Regions from separate parts of the Homo sapiens genome. Here all the other regions are linked to region 1. The links are contacts of gene promoters, found by promoter capture Hi-C in blood cells and fetal thymus (Javierre and others, 2016). All regions are on one chromosome and are shown on one strand. Each heading gives the region's core, a stretch centred on a gene start or on the middle of the fragment in contact. The rest is flanking DNA. Distances are from core to core; before and after follow the strand shown. Region 1 holds the start of PABPC1L (poly(A) binding protein cytoplasmic 1 like). Region 2 overlaps KCNS1 (potassium voltage-gated channel modifier subfamily S member 1). Region 3 overlaps STK4 (serine/threonine kinase 4). Region 4 overlaps STK4 (serine/threonine kinase 4).

Region 1 (2,919 bases), core at 170-2,669:
GTTTTGTTTTGTGTTGAGATGGAGTCTCGCTCTGTTGCCCGGGCTGGAGTGCAATGGCGCAGTCTCGGCTCACTGCAACCTCTGCCTCCCGGATTCAAGCGATTCTCGTGCCTCAGCCTCCCCAGCAGTTGGGATTACAGGCGTCCGCCATCATGCCCAGCTATTTTTTGTATTTTTAGTAGAGAAAGGGTTTCGCTATGTTGGCCAGGCTGGTCTCGAACTCCTGACCTCAAGTGATCTGCCCACCTCGGCCTCCTAAGATGCTGGGATTACAGGCGTGAGCCACTGCGCCTGGCCTTATTTATTTATTTATTTATTTATTTATTTATTTATTTATTTATTTTAGGTTACCACTTAAGAGCGTTTACGAGGTAACAAGCAGTTACCATTCTTTATGCATAGACAGCAGTTCTCCATTCTTTATGTTATTGGAGAATACGCCTTAGCCCCATTTTGCAGATGAAAAGGTGCAGAGCGTGAAGGCTTGCCCAAGCTCACTCATCCTCTCCACTCTCAACAGAAGTGCAGGCAAACTCATCGGACAAGCTCTAATCAATGCTATCAGCTCTGAGAAAGCGGCCTTGCGGCCTGGAGGCAGCGGTTTTTCAGAGCCCGTGCAGGTAGAGGCGCCCAGTGTGGATCTCACGTCGCGCTGGGAAAGGCCTGAGCCCAAGGCTGGGTTCTCCTGCCTCCCCTGCTCACCAGCTGTGTTGCCTTGGGCATCTTCCTCACCAGGTGCTTTGAATCTCTCATCCTCACAAGCACTCTATAAGGCAGCTAGGACCCCCATTTTCCAGACACGCATCTGAAGCTCAGAATGGTCGAGTAACTTGCCCAGAGTCACACGGCTGCTGGGCTTCTATCCCTGGTCCGCCTGACCCCCACCCCCACCCCCACAAAGCCTGTATCTGTTTTCACTCGACCCTAATCTCTCTCCTCTGTAGAGGAATAGCAGTAAACCACACTAATTACCAATTCCCGTCTCAGGGGCCAGGCCTCTGCCAACGCCCTGTTATCTTTGAGCCTCAGTTTCCCCGGCTGCAAAGTGTAAGATGAAAGCGCAAGCGGCCCAGTTCCGGCTTCTGTCTGTCCGCCTGCTTGTCCGTCGGTCCTTCCCCTCCCGCCCCATCCCCGGGGCTCACCGTCCGCGGGCTGCTGGAAGTTGATGTAGGCGTAGCCCAGCGAGCGCCGGGTGGCTACATCGCGGCACACGCGGATGGACAGGATGGGGCCGGCGGGAGAGAACTTCTCATAGAGCATGGCCTCGGTCACGTCGGGGTGCAGATCGCCCACGTAAAGCGAGGCAAGCGGGTAGCCAGAACCGCTGGCGTTCATGGTGGGCAGGGGGCCGGGGCTGCGGGGCAAGCAGGAGCCGGGTCACCCAGCAGCCCCGCGCTCACCCGGGCGGAAGCCCTCCTTCCTGGGCGCGGGCCCGCCCCTTCCCTTTACCGCCCCCGCGTCCCTGCGCACCAATCGTGGGCGCGCTCGGACGCCCCTCCCCCGGGATCCCTCCTGGGCCCACCCCCCACCTGCGAGCACTTGGGGATCTAAAAGCTACAGGTGGGGACACCTCTGACCCCGCCCTGGGAGGCGGAAAAAGCCTTCAACCTGGCCTTGAGCAGGGCTGCTGGGACTTGAGTGGAGCTCTCAAAACCCCCAGCTCTTTTGAAAGAGCCGAGGACTGGGACGGAAAGGACGCAGGGGACTGAGTTCTAACCCCGGAACAGATGATCATCTTTCTGAACCCGTTTCCCTTCTCTGTAAAATGGGAATGATTCCCTCCTGACAAGAATGAAAGGAGACCCAAACCGCGCTTTTTGCGTTTCACACACAAACGGAATTCCGAACAGGCCACTGTTTCAAAGCTTGTGTAGAGAATTTTACCCTGCTCCATTGAAGATGTCTTCCTCCAGAGAGCCTGATCCAGTCCCACCGTTTCGCACCAAGGATGGAAATGGCTTTGAGACATGAGAACTGGAGACCACTAAGGCCTTTCTTGGTACTGGCTCATATTACCAAGACCCCTTTTCCTGGGATATTCCCTGTCCCTCTGCTAAGCCATTACACATCCATTACACCAGGGAGGTTCACTGAGTTACTTGTGGCTCAGCCTAAATGCGGACAATTGGGAACTAATAGCAGAGCAAGACCTAAACAGAGCAAGACTGTGAATCTGAGCTTGCAGCGTCAATCTGTGGTATAGGGACATTAAAAACAACACAAAAACAAAACAACTACTCCACTGAGCACCAATACTTCACTTTTCCTCTGATAGGACTTTCCTGGTCTCACTGATCCAACAGAGCAGGTAGGCCCCCACTGACTTTTGGTTGAGTGTGGCTTCAACAGGTGGAACAGCTCCTAAACTAGGGACAGAAGGTGCCCATCTGGCTGTCCAGCCTCAGAGTAGCAAGGAAGCACTAATTCTAATCTTGGGCTAAAAAAGACCCCTCTATCCTGATATTTTTCTCTCCTTGTGGTAATGTGGATGTTTTCAGAAGGGGCAAATCCTGTGAGGAACCAGCTCTGCAGGCCACCATACAGTGTGAGGACAGGTGAGACGCCAGCTTGGTGATGACCAAGACTTATGCAACCATAGGTTACCTATTTCACTGGCTTGGTTGTATCTCAGAGTTAAAAAATGGGGAAGGGATGGTGGGCTCGAATACAATGCAAAATAACTGTCCATACCAAATCTTAGAAGTCACTAAAGAGGACCTAATACCTGCATGGTTTGTTGTGGAAGGTAGAGAGGTATCAAGTAACGGGTGTAAAGAGGCTGTTTAATTAATGGTAATTTCTTCCCCTGGATAACACCTTGACTTCTGGTCCTAAATAATGAAATAAAACTGTTTGCCTATTTTTAAAGAAAACAGAGTTAAAAATAAGTGTGATCAGAATAGTTAGCTAGGTCTGGTA
Region 2 (2,919 bases), core at 240-2,739, 180 kb before region 1:
ATAAAGAGCTGGGCCCCAGGACGTGTTTCTGCTTGTATGGAGATGGCTCCCTGACATGCTGTCTGAGTGATTGGAGAGGGTGGGCAATATGTGGAATGACTTGGAATCCACATTCTCAGGCTCCAGTCCTGGATTTGGCACAAACTTTGTGGTTGTGCCAGCCAGAACAGGTTGCAAGTGACAGGAATTCAGTTGGAACAAACTTGGTCAAAAAGGGTAATTTATAAAATAATTAAAGTGATGAATGACTGTTAACAATTAGAGTTTGAGGGTATAAGCAACAAACTGACATCAAGCAAAAAATGAATTTATTGGAAGATATATTAGTTTCCAGCAGCTGCTGTAACAAATTCAAACAAACTTGATGGCTTAAAACAGTAGAAGTGTATTCTCTGACAGTTCTGGAGGCCAGAAATCCAAAATCAAGATGTCAGCAGGGCCACCCTCCCTCTGGAGACTCCAGGGGGAAACCCTCTCCTTTTCTCTTCTAGTTTGTGGTGGCTGCCACCATTCTTGGCTTTCCTTGGCTGTGGCTGCATCACTCAAGTCTCTGCCTCTGATCTCACTTCAGTGTCTGTGTATGTCAAGTCTTCCAGTGCCTCTGTCTTACAAGGACACTTTTGATGACATTTAGGCCCACCAGGATAATCCAAGATGACCTCATCTCAGGATCCTTAACTTAACCACATTTGCAAAAAGACCCTTTCCCAAATAAGGTAATAGTTACGGGTTCCAGAGATTAAAATATGGACAGGTGTTTGGGGCCACCATCTGGCCCACTACAGAAGGGTATCTGTGAAATTCACCCGACCAAAGGAAGAGCTGACTGACGAGGCCTCAGGAAATACAGGAATGAGGGGAGCTCTAGGGACCTCAGTAGCAAGACTCATGAACCTTCTGTTTAAGACACTGCTACCCACATGATCTGCCTCCAGTCAACTTCCTTCCCTGTATCATCCTGCTCACAGTTCCAATCCCAGGAGAGAGTCTGATTTCACTTGAGTCATATGCCTCTCTCTTGGGAGGGATGGAGGGCAAGGTACCGTATTAGTATTTGCGGCAGTTGGAGGAAAGGTACTTACCCAAATAAAAGACCACCTATTGTCACCAAAAGAAAGGCAAAAGTTATTGATAAGCAAAAATAGCATACCATACACTCCCATCCTTTTCCCATACACACGATTTATGCATGTTTCTAACATAAGGAAACTCTCTTATATATAACCAACATATACCGATCTCCCCAAAGGAAAGACACCCTATGGGGCATATCCTGTTCATGAATCCAGCTATAAGTTCATTCTTCCACTGGTACCACTAATTCTGTCTCAATATCCTGTAATATAAGGAATAAATGGTAAATGTAACTGCCACCAGCATACCCTATATGATACTAGAGGAAAGGAAAAGAAAAACACAGCAAGGAGGAAAAGAGGCCATTGCTATGTCTTCATTTCTGTAATGGTCATAAGGCTGCTGCTGGCATTTATAACATCCCTTCTCTGTGAGCCATGTCATGCCCCCTGCCTTTGGCCAGCACTTTAGTTGGTTGGGATTCTTTTTTTGATGGGGTAACCTAAACCTTTATTCCTAGCGAATCTGAGCACTTGTTAGTCCTGCTGGCATGTGAAGATTCCCCAAGGAATTCCATGGAGTTACTTGCATTCCTTTCTGCCTACTTTGTGTAGCAGTAACCATATTTCCCCTTGACAGGGTGGTTGATTACCCTAATCAAGACTGTAACTCCCTTTATACACACATAGGGAAAAGAAAAGCTCCGAAAGTCCAGGTGACAGGCTCAGTCTCCGATTCAGGGTATTCTTCCTTGAGTACCAAAGAAGTATTCTTCCCTTGGGTACCAAAATCTCTTAAGTCAGCAGAGCTCAGAGTCATAGGATAGGAAGCAATAGATTTGCAAGTGGGTCATTGGGTTTAATCAGAAAACATGCAACTTGATTGAAAGCAAACTTCTCATGCAATCAACTTACATCATTAGGGTCTACGTGAGCCAAATCCCATGTACCCATGGATACACTTGATGATGGAGTCCTTACTAGGCATGCTTGACTTTCTATCTGGATGGATGATATCGTAGTTTGTCACGTTGGGTCATCAGATTACCTGATATCCCATAGTTAGGCCTTCATTCACCATCAAAGCCCAGTAGCAAGCCAGGATCTGATAGCGGTAGAAGCAACAAAATCCAAATTAACACTGTACTTCTTTTGTGGTGATAGAAGTACTACACATATGTCCAGGGTACTGGACACTCTAAGAAACTTCACTGAGATGCACTGGATTTATCTCCCACCTTGTAAAAGGTGTGTCTTACCTACAGAGCTGAAGTGTCTGCTCCTTTGTGCTCTCCAGGCCCTGTTAATGTGATTTAGTCAACTGATTTAGTCAAAATTAGTTTGCTGTCTTTTAGAATAGGGATATTCGGGGAATCAAGGCCTTCCTGTTACAGAGCTGGAGAACAGAGGTATGCCTGAGTTAGAACAGTAAATGAAAACTCTTATCCCTTCTAGGTAATAGCAAAATGCTTCCAGTGGTTTCTGTTCCTCAGAGTAGAGAGTGAAACTAGTAGATGCATGACTCCAGGGACTGTAATGATGAGCATATATCTAACACAACAGTTAAAAATGGAATTATCACCTGACTAAAGTAATCCACTGTCATTTTCCAAGACCCATCTAATTTTGCACCTACCAGAGGAAATTAATGGTGTTTTGATTGGAGTCATCAGCCTGCAAGGTCTTTGGTAGAAACACTAATCTCTGCAGCCTCCCCTAAAGATATGTTACTATCGTTGACTTTTCTATTTTGAAACAGTTGTTCAGTTGTATTCTATTGGCCTTTTATATCACAATGGCCCTCACTTCATGGGTCAGAGAGCCAATATGGGGATCTTTTCCAACT
Region 3 (2,919 bases), core at 254-2,753, 160 kb before region 1:
CCTTGCTCAGAAGTTTTGTTGCCGTCTCTTCTTAGCCTCTATGGCATCCAGGATGGGCTGCCGCTTGGACTGGTACTTCTGCCGGATCTCTTCAATCTCCTGCTCCATCATGGGGTCCAGGGCCAAGAGCCTCTTCTGAAGGTCCTCCACTGTCCAACTCTTAAGCTAGAAGAGAAGTGGAAGGTATAGTCACGACAAAGCTTAAGTCAGTGGCAGAACAGTGCAGAAGCCCAGCCTTCCCAGGCACCCAGAGGGAAGGGAGACAGGAGGAAGACACTGTGGTCAGATCACAGGTTGAGTGGTGGTGGTTGGAAAGTGACAATTCATTCCAAAGCATGGCATACCTTGAAGCTTGTCTGAGATAATTTATCCCTGGAAGAGATCTAAGTGCTAACCGCTTTGATTTAATGTGCCTTGACCAAGAACTTAGTGAATAATACTCTCACCTCCCCTATCTTTTAAGTTAATTAAATATAGATTCATTGTTAGGGCATTAAAATAACAGTAACTTGCTGTATGTGAAATAATGGTTGCCTCCCCGTTCTTGTTCTGTCTACGAGATAAGCGTCTATCTGGACAGCGCCTTTCCCACTTTCAGGATACGACACCATGGAGGATCGATGCTGATGAGGCGCAGATGCCATCCCCTAACCCTGCCTTCCCACACCCCCAATGTCTTGGCACTGCCCTATTATCATCACCAGCATTTACTTGAGGCTACTATATACCAGGTAACAGTCTAAGCCCCTTGGGAATACAGACGCAACCCTTGGCAGGGGTTGGGGTAAGGGTGGGTAGTTAGAAAAACCTCAAACTTCTGAGATTAAGTTTCTATCATCCAAAGAAAAACAATGAGTTGATATATAAATTAATAATAATGGCTGGCATTTAGTGTTTTCTATGCACCAGACACTGAGTGCTTTACATATATGGATTCCTTTAATCCTCAGAGCAACCCATGCTACAAGGACATTATTATCCCTATGTTACAGATGAACAGCCCAAGGAGGAGGGTAGCTAAGTAACCTGCCCAATGTCTCCCAACTAGTAAGTGGCAGAATCAAGACTCAAACCCAGGCAGCATGGCTCTAGAGTCTATGCTCTTAACCAGTGTTGCAGAACAGAAGACTAGCAAAGCACAGGTTTTAGAAGTAACTCAACCTTTGTTTAAAATGTGGTTCTGCCTGTTGCAGATGCCATGAGACTCTGTCAAGTTACCAATCTCTCCAGGCCTTCCCCATCTACAGAAGTCAGACAGCAGTGTCTCATCACATGTATTGTAAGAATTAAATAAGATCACGGCTGTAAAGTTCTCAGCACAGTACCTGCTGCACTGTGTGTGTAAAGATGGCAATGGGTGTTATAAGCCTCTCTCTTCATAAAAGCCCAGGGATACACCAGTGTTCAACCTGTGTCTGCAGCTATGGGGCAAGGGACTCTGCTGCCATGTGTGTTCAGTGATTCCAAGCCTGGCCAATATTGGCTGTCAGGGGTGGGAATGAATGCTGACATTATCCACAGTGGGTGGTGATACTTTATTCTGTGTGCTCACAACCAGTTTAATAGGTACAGTGTTTCAAGAACTCAAAGTCTTACAAGAGGTCTGTTGTGCCCACATTTAGAAAATCATGATCCTCGGCCCTTTCCTGAGGTCTCCACAGGAAAGTAGTATAGGAGCTGGGTAAAGGGCCCTCTGTCTGTCTACCCTTCCTTGAGTGGGTGGGGTGAGAGCAAGTGTGAAGTGCTACAGTGGCCTCCCTAGAAATGGCCTGTCACCACAGGAATTTTCCTTGGCCTGCTTCAGGGAGGGTGTCTGAGAAGTGAGAAAACCCTAATAGTTCAAGACGAAAGGTTCTTTGTAATGTGAGAATGGAAGACTTGAGAGTGTGGGTAAATGCTGGAAAGTCGGGCTGAAAAAAAAAATGCATCTTTCCAGCCTGTGGTTTTATACTACCTTAGAGGTTGGTGTTCTTGGCCCAAGGACACCCCTAATAGCAATGCTTGCCTAGTCTTTGGCATTTTCAATTCCTTCTGCAAAGAGAGAATTCCCCAAGCCTACTACTGAATGTAACTGGTAGTTAAGAATGTAATCTTTGGGATCACAGGTCCTAAATCTGTACTGGCTATGTAACCTTAAACAGTAATTTCACCTCTTGAGCCTCGGTTTCCTCCTTTGGAAAACAGACAATACTATTTTGTTCCTCCACCCTGGGGCGGTACTAAGACTTACATGAGATAATGGTCTGATGGTCTTAGCTCAGAACTTCATATAGTATGTGTTGGGCAGATAGTAAATATTCCACAAATGGATGTTATCACTGTTGTTATTGTTGCTATTGTTATTCTTATTATTATTGTACATATGATTGGTAAGTCTCTAATTAATCTTCCATAAATAAGCTGTTTCTGTAACCTCTAATTCAAGCTAGAATCAAACATGTGAAAAAGAAAATATTCTACTCTATTTCATGCTAATGCCTAAGGGCTGGTACATAATACCTGTTAACTTATGTACAGTTTAACAAAATATTTTTCACCCATCCATTTATAAATACTCATTGAACACCTACTATGGGTCAGGTGCTATTCGAGGCACATAGGCTACTTTAATGAAAACAAACAAACAAACAAAAAGCAGTGCCCTTGTGAAGCTTACATTTTAATGAAGCAAGGAAAATAGCAATAAACACAGTAAATTAGTAAATTATTTTTATATTAGAAGGTGCTCTGGAAAAAAGAAAATAAAAAATAGTGTGAAAGAAGGGGAGCTGGGAATTAGGAGGGTAGACTTGCTTTTCATCTAGCCACTAGGATGAAGAATAAATTGCAAAATGAAGACATATAAGTTAGTGGAGCTGCACTGACTTTGCAACTTATTCTGCAACTTTGGGCAAGCCCGTTCTCCTCCTCAGACCTTAA
Region 4 (2,919 bases), core at 244-2,743, 140 kb before region 1:
CCCTGTCAAGAACAATTTAGGATAGTCTTCTCACCAGAAACTGCTCGACAGGACTACTTCAGTAAAAAGCCATTAACAGGCAGTGCTGTTGACCTTGGCTAGCTACTGGGCATTCACATGGCACTGCCGGGTCAGAAACCTAAACACCAAACATAGTCTCCATTCATCTTTCTTCTAGCACAGAAGAAAAGAAACTCATCAGAAAAAGTTTAAAAAGCAGAGCATGGAGATTGTCCAGAAAGGTGGTGGCAAGAGTCTGAGAGCGCAGGTGCTGATGGTTAAAACCCCAGCTTAATTCACACACTCAACAGGCAAAAAAATGCAACAATAAAAACAATCACAAAGACTCAATCCCCAAACCTCCTGTTGACAAGAAAAAAGCCTGGCTTAATATATTAGAACGACCTGAAAACAACCCAACTCCAACCAAAAAAGCCCCAAATGTTAAATGCCAAGTAAAAAGAGGATGATTAAATCAATCAAAAGAATGTAATGTGATGGGCTACTATGTGACCCTTAAAAATGATTTCACAAGTGTTTTTAATGATATGAGAAAATGTTTAAGATATGTTAAGTGAAAAAAAATCAAGATTTATTATGCATGCAGAATGATCTCAGCTGTGTAAAATAATATCTAAGTATTAAAAAACTGGAAGGAAATGTTAAAATGTAATTATTATTGCTGGGGGGGGTGGAAGAGTTGTAAGAGACATTTTCTTCTTTAAGCTTTTCTTCAGTCTCTAAACTTTCTATAATGAGTGTGTTTTTACAACTAGAAGGTTAACAAAATAGCATTGTAACATTATAGAAGAGCAAACCAACACCAAAAAAGAAGAAAATAATAACATTTATTAAGTGCTTATTGCAGGCCAGCAGTAAGGACCATTGTCCTAAAGGTGCTTTACGTGCATTACAGGTTTAGTATCCCTTATCCAAGATGCCTGGGACCAGAAGTGTTTTGGATTTTGGATTTTTGGATTTGGGATTACGCAACCTGCATCTCATTTGATACTCACGACAGCCCTATGAAAGAGGTATGACTTTACCATGTTTGACAGATAAGACAATCAAGGGTTAGACAGGTGGCATAATAGGTGGAGAAGATAGGCTATGAGCCCTAACAGAATAACTCCAGTGGTTTTAACCACTATATGCCTCTCAACCACAATGGCATAATCTGTCTCCCTGCCTGCAAGCCTGACCTAAACATAAGCCTCAATGACAAAATCTACTTTAGAAGGCACTATAATAATTTAGGATAGTGTGACTGCCAAGGTACTAAGATACTCAGATAAATATTCAAAAGAGGAACTAAAACACCTCTAATGAAGCTATAAAAAGAATCCATGTGATAGAGCAATGCATCGCTGCAGTTGAAAACATACCAGCACAACAAATCAACCCACAGCTAAATCCCACTATACAAGAGAAGCTAGTAATAACTGTCAAAGAAAGACCCCTGGTAACCACTTATTGAACTACCATGAAAAAAGGAACTCACTAAAAGATACAATAACAATGAGCTAGACAGTAAGGATTTGAATTTGTCTCCCAAAAAGCCCCCTAGCAACAAGAGGCCTGGACCATCAAAGGCTAGAGAAAAGAAAGAAACTAAAGAGAAAAATAAAAAGCATTGTACTTGATGCCAAATTATATAAAATACAACCAGCACAGAAGGACCACCTTACTTTTCTTTCAGTCTAGCACTAAAGGCCTTTTGGTTAGAAACAATCAATTTTGCTTGGCAAAAAAAGGATCAAGACATAGAAGTACTTTGGATCAAATTCTGTAGAATCAGCCTATTTGAGATGCATTAAGGTTAATGCCAAAACCAATACGGTGTTCTGTTCACAGTTTCTTTCTAGAGGTTTTAAAAGCCGAAAAACATTAAAACTCAGAGTTTGAAGTGGAAAGTTTCTATCTGTAAAAACAAGCCACTTTTAGGTACTATAAGCTATTAAGATTTGGTAATTCTAAATTAATTATGTATTTTTTAAACCCTTGGTTGTTAGAAAAATATAAAGCTCGATTGCTACCTTACTCTTAACACCAAGACAAATACATGATAGATTAAATATTGAGAAAGAAAAAATAATAAAACATTCTAAAACAAAGTAAGGGTTAATATTTTTGTAATCTTAGAATGTGAAAAACTTTCCCAAAGATGACATAAAATTCCAGAAACCACAAGAAAAAGCTAATAAATCAAAATATATAAAAATTTAAATGTCTGAAGTTAGATACCATATACAAAGCTTTAAAAGATATTCTAGCAGAATATCTTTACCACATATGTTAAAAGGTTCATAACCTGACTTGATAGCTGAAGAAGTCTTTAAAATCAATAAAGAAAATAAGAATTCCATGGAAAATTCAGTAAATAATATAAAGCAACAATTCACATACCAAAAACGATAGGGAAATTTAACAATATGTATCAAAATTTCAAATTTGTGAACAGTTTGACCCAATAATTCTACTGCAGGAATTAATTCTAAGGGCGTACCATGCAAAGATGTTATTAAAGCAATATTTATTAATATTAAAAAGCTGAAGGCTACCTAAATGACCATCAGCTGGAGACTGGTTAAATCAGAGATCACAAACACAAATGTTTTGAGAGACTGGCAAAGACAACAGAAATAAACTCAACAGTCTGCTCATAAAACAAAAACAGGAAGTGATGGGGTCTGTGAAGAGCTGGAGAACTCAGACCCATTTCAGTAGTTCAAAGTATAAAAATTACATGTGCCACAGGCCAAACTGGCTCCCCCTTTCCCAGTCCCCACACACCCCCAGAGTGAGATGTGTAATCTGTAGCCATGGCACGAGCACTGCTGACTGTTCTCTCTGCAGCCAGCCTAGGAAGATCCCCTTACTCTGAATGCTCGTCTGTTCTATCACATTTGAGTAGATACA

The links. Contacts are between HindIII fragments. The CHiCAGO score rates a contact against its expected background, and 5 or more counts as called.
Region 2: a fragment that was not itself captured here is called in contact with the fragment with the promoter of PABPC1L in region 1 in 1 of 17 cell types (M2 macrophages); the score reaches 5.3 in M2 macrophages.
Region 3: a fragment that was not itself captured here is called in contact with the fragment with the promoter of PABPC1L in region 1 in 1 of 17 cell types (M2 macrophages); the score reaches 5.2 in M2 macrophages.
Region 4: a contact is called between a fragment that was not itself captured here and the fragment with the promoter of PABPC1L in region 1, in 1 of 17 cell types (M2 macrophages). The highest score is 5.0, in M2 macrophages.

The regions. Positions count from the first base shown.
Region 1 is chr20:44,908,560-44,911,478 of GRCh38, reverse strand. It overlaps PABPC1L (poly(A) binding protein cytoplasmic 1 like), which reads right to left and starts at 1,419. Exons shown (of 15, transcript NM_001372179.1): 1 at 1,143-1,419. The coding sequence starts at 1,335. RefSeq lists a silencer at 1,236-1,565. The HindIII fragment of the contact is 5,219 bases long and covers 1-1,867 here.
Region 2 is chr20:45,089,408-45,092,326 of GRCh38, reverse strand. KCNS1 (potassium voltage-gated channel modifier subfamily S member 1) reads left to right here. Exons shown (of 4, transcript NM_001322799.2): 4 at 1-1,113. Among named protein-coding and RNA genes, the nearest start is that of KCNS1, 10 kb to the left of the region's middle. The HindIII fragment of the contact is 4,256 bases long and covers 1-2,919 here.
Region 3 is chr20:45,072,264-45,075,182 of GRCh38, reverse strand. STK4 (serine/threonine kinase 4) reads right to left here. Exons shown (of 11, transcript NM_006282.5): 11 at 1-165. The coding sequence ends at 7. Among named protein-coding and RNA genes, the nearest start is that of KCNS1, 27 kb to the left of the region's middle. The HindIII fragment of the contact is 2,300 bases long and covers 354-2,653 here.
Region 4 is chr20:45,050,051-45,052,969 of GRCh38, reverse strand. The region is part of intron 10 of STK4 (serine/threonine kinase 4); the gene reads right to left. Among named protein-coding and RNA genes, the nearest start is that of KCNS1, 50 kb to the left of the region's middle. RefSeq lists a silencer at 1,071-1,140. The HindIII fragment of the contact is 1,529 bases long and covers 729-2,257 here.